3 separate regions of the Homo sapiens genome follow, and all the other regions are linked to region 3. The links are contacts of gene promoters, found by promoter capture Hi-C in human tissues and cell types (Jung and others, 2019). All regions are on one chromosome and are shown on one strand. The core of a region is centred on a gene start or on the middle of the fragment in contact, and the rest is flanking DNA. Distances in the headings are between cores, read along the strand shown. Region 1 holds the start of NAALADL1 (N-acetylated alpha-linked acidic dipeptidase like 1). Region 2 holds the start of GSTP1 (glutathione S-transferase pi 1). Region 3 holds the start of BRMS1 (BRMS1 transcriptional repressor and anoikis regulator).

Region 1 (4,370 bases), core at 1,162-3,661, 1.3 Mb after region 3:
GTGTGGGGCAGGTGGAGAGTGGGGAGGGAGCCAGCAGCAGTGCATTGCTGGTCCTGGAGGATTGAAGACCCCTTGGACCCAGAGCCATTGGGAGAATAAGGCAGGAAAATGAAAGGTGTTCATGTGCTCTAACTACCGTAAGTTATTTCTAGGAACTCCCACAATCCAGAATGTTCTGGGAGGGGCCATACCACCCACACAGCAAAGATGAAGGAAAGAAAATTGACTAAGTTAACGTCTGGTGCCTACAGCCATGTAGACACCAGTGGATTCCAACAGCCTGAGTGGATCTCTTGGGTGTCACACACACAGCTGTTTACACACTCTCCAACACAAACCACAGTCCCAGGTGTTATCACTCAGATGTCACACACTTTTGTCCAGGCGTCCTGTTTGTGACTTCACATGATTGAGGGGTTAAATCCTTCCAGGAGTGGGTGGGGTAGGACCATGGGGTTGCTGCCTCAGTCCCTCAACTTATCAGCTGACCTTGGCATCCCACTCCCCACCTGGTGGTGACTGTCCTGTGTCCTCATAAGGAAGGTGTATGCTCCCTGCACCGATGGGCTTCTGATAAGATCCAAGGTCATATTCTGGGCGTCGATAATCACGTTGCCAAGAACTGTGGCTTCCTGGTGCACCTCCCTGAAGTCACTGATCACATGACATCCCTTCCCAGCCACCCCTAGTCCTCCCATGCTGAACCTCCTCACCAGCAGCACAAGAGATGGTGGTGCCAGCAAAATGGGGTTGTGAGCAGGAAGGAGGCTGCTCTGAGAGGGGTCTGTGAAATCACACACACACACATGCACGTGCACACACACACACACACACACACACGCTCTGCCCTGATCCAGCCCCCAAGCTCTGCAGGCATCTTTGAGCCCATCCATGGGCTGCAACCTGCGAGGCAGAGTCAAGGCAGGATAGGCCATGGGAGGGTGGGAGAAGTCCCAGCTCAAGTCCCTAGGGACCCCCCCAGCCCCTCCTGGCTCTCCGTGAGGTCTGGAAGAGGCTCAGTATGTGTATGGCATACTTGGGGTCTCACTTCCCTCTCAGCCCTTGCAAATGCTGGAACACCTTTTCAGCCTTGGAGGACCCCCTCAGATGTTCCCTCCTAGTCAGAACTCCTCACTCTTTCACTGGGAGCATGGTGATCCTCCCTCTACAGGGCACTTACCACATGGCTGAACCTAAAGCCTGTCTGCCTCGCCTGCTGGATTTTGCTTCCCCACAGCCTTGCATGGCTCTAGTATAGCACAGAATGAACAGTGCTTGCATGTATAAAGGAAGGAATGAATAAGTGAATGGAGGGATGGGTGGATGGATAAATAGGAGGGTGGATGACGGAGTCCAGGCAGAGCCAGGGGATAGAAGAGGAAGTCACCTCGCCAGGGAGGCATGGGCTTCCCCTGCTGCCTCCTCTGGGACAGCCTCCCTTCCCAGGACTCCCATTCCTCGTATCGCTGGGCTCCCTTCAGGATAGACACAGAGAGTTCTTCTGGGTCCTCCTTCTTCCTTTAGCTCTAGGCCTTACATTTTCCAGAGTCAGATGAGGGATGAGTAGTTAAAATTGATGAGCTCCCACTACATGTCAGACACTGCACTAGCTATTTCTACAGATGCCATATTGTTTAATGAAAATGACACCATAGCCGGCACGGTGGCTCACTCCTGTCATCCCAGCACTTTGGGAGGCTGAGGCGGGTGATCACCTGAGATCAGGAGTTTGAGACCAGCCTGGCCAACATGGTGAAACCCCATCTCTACTAAAAATACAAAAATTAGCTGGACATGGTGGTGCACACCCGTAATCCCAGCTACTCGGGAGGCCGATGCAGGAGAATCACTTGAGCCCGGGAGGTGGAGGTTGCAGTGAGCCGAGATCACACCACTGGACTCCAGCCTGGGTGTCAGTGGAAGACACAGTCTAGAAAAAAAAAAAAGAAAACAGGTGTAGAGAAGCTGAGTGGATTGCCCAAGGTCACACAGCTTACGTCCAGCAAGAAGGGGGATCTCAACTCAAAATCTGCTCAGGCAGGTAGGGCTGGGTATGCTGTAGATCGGCTGCCTTGGAGGGAGGCAGAGGCAGTGAGGGTGGGCAGTGGGCACGGCCCTGCTGTGAACACAGGAGCTCTGAGTTCCAGCCCTGGCTTGGCCTCTGTTTTCCTGGGACACCCTGGATGAGCCCCTTCCCTCTCGGCTTCAGTGTCCCTGGGTGACCTTGCTGCCCTTGGAGAGCCATTCCAGGCAAATGGTGCAGGATGTGGTGGATGTGGATGGCTCCTGGCTCTCACTGCGGGATGTTCCCTCACTCTCCCTGCCAGCTGGGGGTCAAAGGGCAGTGCCACCCATGGGGTAATGTTTAACCAGGCACAACACCCCCTCTATAGGGAATAACCTATAGACCAGTCCTACCCCAGCTGGCCAAGAGTCCGCAGGATGCAGTGGACGAAGGTGTTGGGGCTGGGGCTGGGGGCTGCTGCCCTCTTGGGGCTGGGGATCATCCTCGGCCACTTTGCCATCCCCAAAAAAGCCAACTCACTGGCCCCCCAGGACCTGGACCTGGAGATCCTGGAGACCGTCATGGGGCAGCTGGATGCCCACAGGATCCGGGAGAACCTCAGGTGAGAAGTGGGGCCATCTGCTCCTCCGTTTGCCAGAGGCCCCCTCCCTGATGCTGGCCCTGCCCCTCCCTCTGCCCACCCTGCAGAGAACTCTCCAGGGAGCCACACCTGGCCTCCAGCCCTCGGGATGAGGACCTGGTGCAGCTGCTGCTGCAGCGCTGGAAGGACCCAGAGTCAGGCCTGGACTCGGCCGAGGCCTCCACGTACGAAGTGCTGCTGTCCTTCCCTAGCCAGGAGCAGCCCAACGTCGTGGACATCGGTGAGGTCCTGCCCAGTCTTGGGAATGCCCGGGGGTGGGGAGCTGCTGGGCCCAGCCATGATACTGCCACCCCTCCAACAGTGGGCCCCACTGGGGGCATCATCCACTCCTGCCACCGGACTGAGGAGAACGTGACCGGGGAGCAAGGGGGGCCAGATGTGGTACAACCCTATGCTGCCTATGCTCCTTCTGGAACCCCACAGGTGGGCCCAGAACCCCCCCTACTGCTCTGGCCCAGCTCCCTTGGTTCCACCCAGGGTTCTCCCCACCCTGACCCAGGGAACGTGCCTCAACTGGGGCACAGCGCGCCCTCCGGAATTTACTCACCGGGACACTCCATCGCTGCTCCTTTCCTCCATCAGTCATTCAACAAACACTAGTGGCTCTGCTCAAGGCCAGGTCTGTTACAGGGCACCCAGACATGGAGGAAATGAGGGGTGACTGTTCTTGGGGAGCTTACAAGCTCTGGGTGAGGTGGGGGAACAGAATCTAAATTCTCCCTCCTGCCATGCAAACTTCCACCCCCCTTCCCCACCCACACTTCGCTGGGCCCAGCTCTAAGGATCACCCCCTCTTGGGACTAGGGCCTCCTCGTCTATGCCAACCGGGGCGCGGAAGAAGACTTTAAGGAGCTACAGACTCAGGGCATCAAACTTGAAGGCACCATTGCCCTGACTCGATATGGGGGTGTAGGGCGTGGGGCCAAGGTGAGTGGCAGTCCCCCAGTGCAGGAGGCCTCGGTGAGGAAGGGGCTGGGCAGTGGACTGGAGGAAGTGAGGGGAAGGGGAAGGAGAAGAGGCAGTGTTGAGTGGGGAACCAAGCCCCAGGGTGGGGCAGGAAAGGCAAGGTGTTTTCGGGTTGTCCCACCAATGGGCTGTGTGGCCTCGGATGCCTCCCTGACCCTCTCTGAGCTGTAGGAAATAAAGGGGTTGAGTACAATTTTCAGGTTTGGTATTCCAGAAGTCTAAGTCCTCCTGTGAAATAGTTTTGAATATTCAACTTAAGTCCCTCCTGTTGGCCCTCTCCCTGCCATTTCTTTTCCATCAAAAATTCTGACTAGGGGCCGGGCGCTGTGGCTCACGCCTATAATCCCAGCACTTTGGGAGGCCGAAGTGGGCAGATCACCTGAGGTCAGGAGATCAAGGCCAGCCTGGCCAACATGGTGAAACTCCATCTCTACTCAAAATACAAAATTAGCCACACATGGTGGTGCATGCCTGTAATCCCAGCTACTGGGGAGGCTCAGGCAGATGAACTGCTTGAACCTGGGAGGCAGAGATGGTAGTGAGCTGAGATTGCACCACTGCACTCTCCAGCCTGGGAGACATCGAGACTCTGATTTAAAAAAAAAAAAAAAAAAAAAAAGGCTGGGCATGGGCGTGGTGGCTCACGCTTGTAATCCTAGCACTTTGCGGGGCCAAGGCAGGCGGATTGCCTGAGTTCAGGAGTTCAAGACCAGCCTGGGCAACACGGTGAAACCCCAT
Region 2 (4,303 bases), core at 1,152-3,651, 1.2 Mb before region 3:
CCTGGTCTCCCACAATGAAGGTCTTGCCTCCCTGGTTCTGGGACAGCAGGGTCTCAAAAGGCTTCAGTTGCCCGGGCAGTGCCTTCACATAGTCATCCTTGCCCGCCTCCTGCCAGACACCACCATGTATCATCCTACTCTCATCCCTCCCAGCCCCTGAGACACCCCCGTCTGCCCCAGGCCAGACACCAGAGTCCCAGATTCTCCTCTGCTTGCTCCCCACAACCAGGCTAGTACCAAATCCTGTCCACTTCAGCTGCCAACTCATCTCTATTCCATTCTGCCTGTCCATCCTTGCTGGGTTCTCTCACCAGATGATTGCAAAAGCTTTAGAGCTGGCTTCTCTGGAGGATCCTTCTAGACCTCACATTCAGACACAGCCCTGTTCAGACTTCTCAATGGCCCCCATTGCCCTTAGGAGACTCCAAACCAGTGGGTTCAAGGCCTTCGGGACCTGGGCCTACTGCCCGCCCATCTCTATCTCCTTACCCACCCGACACAAATGCAAGCGTACACACACACACGCACACACATGCACACGCACGCGCACACACGCTGCCTCTGCTGAACTGGTCCCAGGTCCCCAAATGTGCTCTGTGTCTGCATATTTTCCTCAGCTAAAAGTGCCAGCACCTCCATCCAGAAACTGGCGACAAATCCTCCTCCACCTCTGGCTACTCCAGGAAGCCCTCGCCACCCCAGGAGATCAGAAACCACCAGTTGCTGGAGGTCTCTGTCCTTGCACTCGCCCCCATGACCCGTTACTTGGCTGGTTGATGTCCCAGGCAATAAGGGTGCAGGTTGTGTCTTGTCCCAGGCCCCTGGGCCCCTGGCCCAGAGCTGACCCAGCCCCTGCACCCTGACCCAAGAAGGGGTCAGCCCAAGCCACCTGAGGGGTAAGGGGGGTGAGGGCACAAGAAGCCCCTTTCTTTGTTCAGCCCCCAGTGCCCAACCCTGGTGCAGATGCTCACATAGTTGGTGTAGATGAGGGAGATGTATTTGCAGCGGAGGTCCTCCACGCCGTCATTCACCATGTCCACCAGGGCTGCCTCCTGCTGGTCCTTCCCATAGAGCCCTGGGGTTGGGTGGAGGGGAGCAGGCCGCGTGACTGGGCGCCTGATCAACACACAGTCACTGGGGATGGGCCAACCAGGGGGCTGTCTGTGAGCCCCAGCCTGGGAGGAGGGGAAGAGGATGTGCGTGGAAGGATGAGAGACTGCCACACAGCAGGTGCTCAGAGCTCACCTGACACCTGGGAGGCAGCCTGGCACAGGGCAAGGATTGCAGGCACCCAGGCTTGACCTTGGGCAAACTACGTAACCTCAGTGGGTCTCAGTTTCCTCCACTCCAGAGGGCTGCGGGGCAGCTGATTTAAACAAAAGGGCTCCGGGGGCAGAGGCTTGCCCATGCCTGCCCTGGACTTGGAGGTTCAAGACTCACCAAGGGTGCGGCCCAGGTGACGCAGGATGGTATTGGACTGGTACAGGGTGAGGTCTCCGTCCTGGAACTTGGGGAGCTGCCCGTATAGCTGTTGGGGGAGGCATGGCTCAGGGAGGGGCACTGAGCTTGGGCGTCCCCCGATCCTAGTCACAGCCCCCTAAGGCCCAGCACCCCCTCCCCTTGCCCGGGCATGGTCACTTACGCAGGAGGCTTTGAGTGAGCCCTCCTGCCACGTCTCCACGGTCACCACCTCCTCCTTCCAGCTCTGGCCCTGATCTGCCAGCAGCATGCGCAGGGCCGCGCAGCGGCCTGCGGGGAGGGAGAAGTACGAGATGTGGGGACCGGGCCGACTCCGCCTCGCAGCAACCCGGGGAGGGGTCAGGAGTGCAGGGAGGGAACAGGGAAACAGGTTCCTCCGAAGATTTCACACAACACTGGGGCGGGGAGCAGGCATGGCGGGAGAGGCGGGGAACAGGAAGGAGGCCCGGGGTAAAAGCCACACGACGGAGGGATAAGGGGGTTCGGATCTCTCCGGGTGGGCGAGGGGCTGTGGGCTGCAGCCCCAGCCCCTGCCTCCCTTCCCTGCCAGACACATGCTCCTACCTCGAACTGGGAAATAGACCACGGTGTAGGGCGGCACTGCAGCGAACAAAGAAAAGTTTGCTGGAGCCCGGGGGAGGATGCCAAGGCGCGGTGAGCGCAGTCTGCCCCCCCTCCCCGCCCCCGGGGTCCCATCCCTCCCCGAGGCGCTCCGGGCCCCCTGAAAGCCGCTAACGGCACTGGGGACGTCCTGGGTCCCCTAGGCCCCCGTCCCGGGTCTCGAGGTGGGCGAGGAGCCCTGCCGGGAGCCCGGGCCTGATGCTGCGGGTTGGCCCCATGCTGGGAGCTCTGAGCCCCATCCCCGGGGACGCGGGCCGCGCGTACTCACTGGTGGCGAAGACTGCGGCGGCGAAACTCCAGCGAAGGCCTCGCGGCCTCCGAGCCTTATAAGGGTGGTCCCGCCCCGCTCCGCCCCAGTGCTGAGTCACGGCGCCGGCCGCTCTTCTGGAGGGTCCCGCGGACTCCCGCCGGCCCCAGCCCCGGCGGCCGCTGCACCCCGGGCGTCGGCCGCAGAGGGGCGCCCTGGAGTCCCCGGAGTCGCCGCGCAGCTGGCCGGGGAAGCCTTTCCCTCTTTCCCAGGTCCCCAGCGGGGCCTAGGGAGTAAACAGACAGCAGGAAGAGGACCGCAGCGAAGTGTGCGCAGCGAACTGGCGCGCCGGGACATCGCGGGGGGAAATTCCCTAAGACCGCTGCGATCCCGGAGCTTGCACACCCGCTTCACAGGGCAGGGGAGAGGGGTGGAGGCCGCTTAGAGGAAAGGAAATTGCTTTATTTTATTTTATTTTATTTTATTTTTTTATTTTATTTTATTTTATTTTATTTTATTTTATTTTATTTTATTTTATTTTATTTTGTGTTATTTTATTTTATTTTATGACGTAGTCTCACGCTGTGGCCCAGGCTGGAGTGCAGTGGCGCGATCTCGGCGGCTCACTGCAACCTCCGCCTCTCGGGTTCAAGCAATTCTGCTTCAGCCTCCCGAGTAGGTGGAATTATAGGTGCGTGCCACATCTGGCTGATTTTTGTATTTTTAGTAGAGACGGGGTTTCACCATGTTGGCCGGGCTGGTCTCGAACTCCTGACCTTAGGTGATCTGCACGCCTCGGCTTCCCAAAGTGCTGGGATTACAGGCGTGAGCCACCACGCCTGGCCGTCCAACTTTTATTTGAAGTTCTGGGGTACATGTAGAGGATGTGCAGGTTTGTTACATAGGTGTGTGCGCCATGATGGTTTGCTGTACAGATCATCCCATCACCCAGGTATTAAGCCCAGTATCCCTTAGCTATTCTTCCTGGTACTCTCCCTCCCCAGCACCCCGCTCAACAGGCACCAGTGTGTGTTGATCGCCGCCATGTGACCATGTGTTCTCATTGTTCAGCTCCCACTTATAAGTGAGACCATGCGGTCTCGCTGGTTTTCTGTTCCTGTGTGAGTTTGCTGAGGCTAACGGCTTCCAGCTCCACCCATGTCCCTGCAAAGGACATGATCACGTTCCTTTTAGTGGCTGTGCCTTAGGCTATTTTCTTTGGCTTTGCTGCCTACTTTCTGTTGATTTGCAGATCTCCATTTATTCTAGATATTGATCTCTTGTTGGCTTTAGACATGACAGACAGCTTCTCCTATTCCATCAACTGTCAAGTTTGTCCAAGGAGTCTTTCATGAAACAAAACTCGTTAATTTAAGTGTAATCAAATTCAGCAAGGGATTTTTGTGGTGGGGAAGAGGTTGGTGTTTATGTTGTATCTTTAAAACTTCATTTAATGCAGCCATTAAAAAGAACTAGATCATGTCTTTTGTGGGAACATGGATGGAGCTAGAGGCTATTATCCTTAGCAAACTAATGCAGGAACAGAAATCCAAATACTGGATGTTCTCACTTGTAAGTGGGAGCTAAATGATGAGAACTTATAACACAAACAAGGAAACAACAGACACTGTGGTTGACTCCAGGGTGCAGGATGGGAGGAAGGAGAGGAGCAGAAAAGAGAACTATTGGGTACTCGGCATAATACCTGGGTGATGAAATATTCTGTACAACAAACACCGAAGACACGAGTTTACTTATGTAACAAACCTTCACATGTACCCCCAAAACAGAAATAAAAGTTAAAAAACAAAGAAATTTCATTTAAAAGTCTTTTTTAAGAGACTTATTATCGGGGGAAATTCAGCCCCCAATATTTCACGTGGGTCCTTTCCTATTTTCCCTAAGTGTCGGCTGGCCTGAGAAATAAAGGGAAAGAGTACAAAAGAGAGACATTTT
Region 3 (4,439 bases), core at 673-3,172:
GACGAAGGGCACCGTCTGCAAAGCACTGAACCATCAGGGCCTTCCCTGCAGGCCGAAGGCCTGCGCGAATGTCGGCCAGTTACTATGGAGACCGGCCCGCGGTATCCCAGCATGCCTCGGGACCAAACTGTCCAACTGTGAGCATCCCCGACGGTCGCCTCCTGATGACGCACACGGAAGCACCGATAGGCTCTGCCTCCCGAAGAAAAGGGAGCCGCGCAGCGCCTACGGGAGTCCGGCGGCAGCAGCCGGTACCGGCAACCACGGGCAGCTCTCAGGGAATCTCCGTCGTGAGGCCAGAGGCTCCAGTCCCCGCGGTGCGTATCGTCATGCATGGCTTTTGGTTCGCCCTCTCCGGTTAGTCGAGCAGGGCCGGCACAACCTCCTCCTCCGAGGCCGAAGCAGAGATTTAACCGGCCTGACGCGTGCTGGGCTGCGGGCGAGCCAGTGATATTCCGGCCCGCTCCGGCGCATCTAGAAGGGAGCGGGAGGCCCCCTGGGCGCTGCGGAGAAGCTGGATTGACCTCTGCGAGAGTGGGGAGGGTCTGCCTTCCCTAGGGGCCTGCCCCGGAGGAGCTGCCATTCTGAAAAGATAAATTGCCTGTGTACAGCGCTTTACAGTGTGCTTTTCCATCCCTTACCACCTGTGAGCTCCTCAACACTCAGAGCAGGAATGGTTATCCGCTTTTTGCACCCGGGGTAAGGTGGGAAGGTTGTGACTTAACTCACTCATAATCAGAACCAGGGGGAGGAAAGAAAGGCTTCTGGAAGAGATAGACTTAAGCTGCATCTTACAAAGTGAATATACTAACAGTGAAGAGGCATTGCAAATGTTGGGAACTGAGGCTTGATAACGGGAAGATGAAGCTGGTTTAGAGAACCGAGCCTTTCAAGTCAGGTGCAGGTCATTAGTGAAATTGTTGAGGAATATGACTAAACACTCACCTAGGCCAGGCTTACTATACACAACTTGAACTGGTGTCAAGGAAAGCTTGCTACCATTACAGGGACCTGGGACTACCGAAAAGTAAAAACTAATGTCTGTCTCACAAAAAATTTTTTTGTTAAATTTGTATTTGCAAATCCTCCAGTCATCAAGTGAACCAGCACTGTGCTAGGTAAATAAGTTACATGTGCAGCCCCTGCCCTAGTGAGGCTCATAGACTGATTGCGGGGACAGATATGAGAACAGGCAAATAGATATAAACAAAGCTTCCTGGAGGGAGTGGTGTCTGCACTGTTCTAAAGGACTACAAAGCAGTGTCCAGAGAAGTTGGAAGAACACAATAAAATAGAAGCCTGCAGGAGGTTGAGAGATTATCTGCTGAGAGGACTGTTTTCTTCTTCTTAGGTGATCTCTTGGCAGTACTTGGCACTATCAGTGCAATTACTCCTTGGCAGTACTTGGCTTTCTTCTAAAACTCTTTCTCCACCACTTCGGGTTTTGCCTCCTCCTTTGTAGGGGTCTCCTCATCTGCCCCTTTGGTGACCCTGGGCGTCTTCTGATCGCACACATTGTGCCTTGCTGGTTGCACCTTCTCCTGTGGCATGAAGAACTTGCTGTATGCTGACGACCAAATCCCTGCAGCTCAGATTTCTCACTGAGACTTAGACCCATGTTCCCCCAGCTGCTTTCCTTCTCTTATTTCTGGGTCTTTGCTACTGACTCTACCTGGAATGTTCCCTCAATAAGTGCAGCTCACCCAGCTGGTCCATCTTTGTCTGGAAGCCTCCCTGCTGCATCGGGCTCCAGGTCCTGGTTATATACCCCTCCCTTATGCCCCTGGTCTTAACTCTCCTCCTATCATGGTTATAGTGTGCTCCTTTGCCCCTGTCTCCCAGGAACTTGTAAACTCCGTGAGGTCAAAGACATTCACACTTGGGCGCCTGCATACCATAGCGTCTGACGGTACCTAGCATATGTTAGATGTTCAATACATGTTAGATGAGTCAGTAAAAGAAGGAATGCTTACCAGTGTTGGATGTTGCCGAGCAGACAATTAAAATAAGCACTGAAAAATATTGGCATTAGCCACAAGGAAGTCATTGGTTAATGCTACGGGATCAGTTTCAGCTGAGATTGAGGACATCGAACAAGTGGGAGGTGAAAGTAGGAACAGCCAGTGTTCATGAGACCTTGAAAAGTGTAACTGTGAAGTGGCAAATGGAGCAGTTAGGTGGAATGGGTGAGGTTTTGTGTTTCTGTGTTTTGTTAATGCTAGGAAGTACCCAAGCACATCCAAAGTTTCATGGGAAGGAGGTTGCTAAGAGTTAGAAGCTGAAGACACAGAAAAGAGAGGGGAGCACTGATGACCTGCGGTCCAAGAGGAAGCAGAAGGAGATGGGATTTGACCCAGAGCACAATGAAAGACAAGGAGATTGTAACATTATCTGGAAGAGAAGCCGAGGACATTATAGGCAGAAGGAACAGCTGAGGCAGAGGGTGGATAGTGGAAGTGCAAGCACTAGCCATTATATGTTGGGATGAAGGAGCTGGACCGGTAGGTCAAGTCCAGTCTGGGAAAGACCTTGAAAGCCCCAGTTAGAAATTTAGGTCCAGTTTGGGTGTGGTGCGGGCGCCTGTAATCTCACTACTCAGGAGGCTGAGGCAGGAGAATCGCTTGAACCCAGGAGGAGGAGGTTGCAGTGAGCTGAGATCGTGCCACTGCACTCCAGCTTGTCAACAGAGCGAGACTCTGTCTCAAAAAATAATAAGAAGAAAAGAAATTTAGGTCCAGTTGCAAAGGCAGTGGAGAGTGCCCCCTGGGCCTTTCCTTTCTGTGGATCACAGCCTTGGCCAGTATTGCTAGGATTAGGATCACCAGTGACATCCAAGAGCAGGAGCAGTTCCACAGCTCCCAGCCTTCTGTGAGAGGTGCAGATGGCCATTTGCACCCTTGTCACCCAGTTTGTGCTCAAGGTGTGGCCAGGCCAGTTACTTCCCTGGCTTTCCCCATCTGGGATCGAGTTGTGTTCAGCATCCTGCTGCCTCTTTCCCCCTCTGAGCTGTGGGCAGCCATAAGTGATAGCTCCATTCCTTCTCCCAGAGTCCAGATGCCTGTCCAGCCTCCAAGCAAAGACACAGAAGAGATGGAAGCAGAGGGTGATTCTGCTGCTGAGATGAATGGGGAGGAGGAAGAGAGTGAGGAGGAGCGGAGCGGCAGCCAGACAGAGTCAGAAGAGGAGAGCTCCGGTGAGCCCCTACACACACAGACACACACACACACACACAGAGCCCCTACACACACACATGCACACACACAGCCCCTACACACAAGCATGCACGCACATGCACATACAGCGCCTACACACAAGCACATACACAGACCCTGCACACAAGCGCACACACGCACACACAGCCCCTACACACAAGCACGCACACACAGCCCCTACACACAAGCACGTATGCACACACACAGCCCCTTCACACAAGTACACGTGCACACAGCCCCTTCACACAAGCACGCACGCATATGCACACACAGCCCCTACACACAAGCACACACGCACACACACAGCCCCTTCACACAAGCATGTACGCGCACACACACACAGGCCCTACACACAGGCATGCATGCACACACACACATGCAGGACGCACATGCACACATGCGGGTACCCACCACTCCTCCCCAGAGCTAGCCCTTACTGGCCTCTTGTCCCAGAGATGGATGATGAGGACTATGAGCGACGCCGCAGCGAGTGTGTCAGTGAGATGCTGGACCTAGAGAAGCAGTTCTCGGAGCTAAAGGAGAAGTGAGCGTGGGGACACCTTGGGCTGGGTCTGCGAGGATCTGGGATGAGGAGGTGGTGGGCCTGGTACTGGGCAGGCGTGGTTGGTGCCCAGGAAGTGCGCGCCTAACACCGGGCTTGCTGTGGAATGGGTGCTGGGTATGTGTTTGCCCAAGAGCGATGGGTGAGCAAATGGGTGCACGGCTGCCTTTTTACCACGCAGGTTGTTCAGGGAACGACTGAGTCAGCTGCGGTTGCGGCTGGAGGAAGTGGGGGCTGAGAGAGCCCCTGAATACACGGAGCCCCTTGGGGGGCTGCAGCGGAGCCTCAAGATTCGCATTCAGGTGGCAGGTCTGTGGGTGGTTCTGTACCCTCTTCCCCTCCCAGAACCCGTGGCACCCTGTCCCCTTCCTCTCTCGTTCCTGCCCGGCCTTGCCCTTTGCTCTCAGCCCTCCTATGTGGGCACCGGGCTCCCCAGCCAAGCAGGGACCCTCCTCCCTTTCTCTGCAGGGATCTACAAGGGCTTCTGTCTGGATGTGATCAGGAATAAGTACGAATGTGAGCTGCAGGGAGCCAAACAGCACCTGGAGGTGGGCCTGATTGGGCACACTGGGGGTGAGGCAGGGCACAAAGCCTGAAGTGGCCTCACCCCATCCGTCCTGCTGAGCTATTGCCCCCTCTTCCAGAGTGAGAAGCTGCTGCTCTAT

Evidence for each region. The method cuts DNA at HindIII sites, captures the fragments that hold promoters and counts their contacts. A contact is called where the count stands out against the background at its distance.
Region 1: the fragment with the promoter of NAALADL1 here is called in contact with a fragment that was not itself captured in region 3 in 1 of the 25 tissues and cell types used here (ovary).
Region 2: the fragment with the promoter of GSTP1 here is called in contact with a fragment that was not itself captured in region 3 in 1 of the 25 tissues and cell types used here (psoas muscle).

What each region holds. Positions count from the first base shown.
Region 1 is chr11:65,056,594-65,060,963 of GRCh38, reverse strand. NAALADL1 (N-acetylated alpha-linked acidic dipeptidase like 1) reads left to right here and starts at 2,411. Exons shown (of 18, transcript NM_005468.3): 1 at 2,411-2,627; 2 at 2,714-2,886; 3 at 2,968-3,089; 4 at 3,471-3,593. The coding sequence starts at 2,443. The HindIII fragment of the contact is 22,908 bases long and covers 1-4,370 here.
Region 2 is chr11:67,581,910-67,586,212 of GRCh38, reverse strand. It overlaps GSTP1 (glutathione S-transferase pi 1), which reads right to left and starts at 2,401. Exons shown (of 7, transcript NM_000852.4): 1 at 2,369-2,401; 2 at 2,044-2,079; 3 at 1,643-1,749; 4 at 1,441-1,528; 5 at 972-1,075; 6 at 2-109. The coding sequence starts at 2,369. RefSeq lists silencers at 2,022-2,171, 2,489-2,631, 2,182-2,801. The HindIII fragment of the contact is 9,062 bases long and covers 1-4,303 here.
Region 3 is chr11:66,340,850-66,345,288 of GRCh38, reverse strand. BRMS1 (BRMS1 transcriptional repressor and anoikis regulator) reads left to right here and starts at 185. Exons shown (of 10, transcript NM_015399.4): 1 at 185-317; 2 at 3,048-3,193; 3 at 3,666-3,756; 4 at 3,956-4,083; 5 at 4,243-4,322; 6 at 4,419-4,439. The coding sequence starts at 3,055. RefSeq lists enhancers at 10-439, 1-445. The HindIII fragment of the contact is 3,306 bases long and covers 270-3,575 here.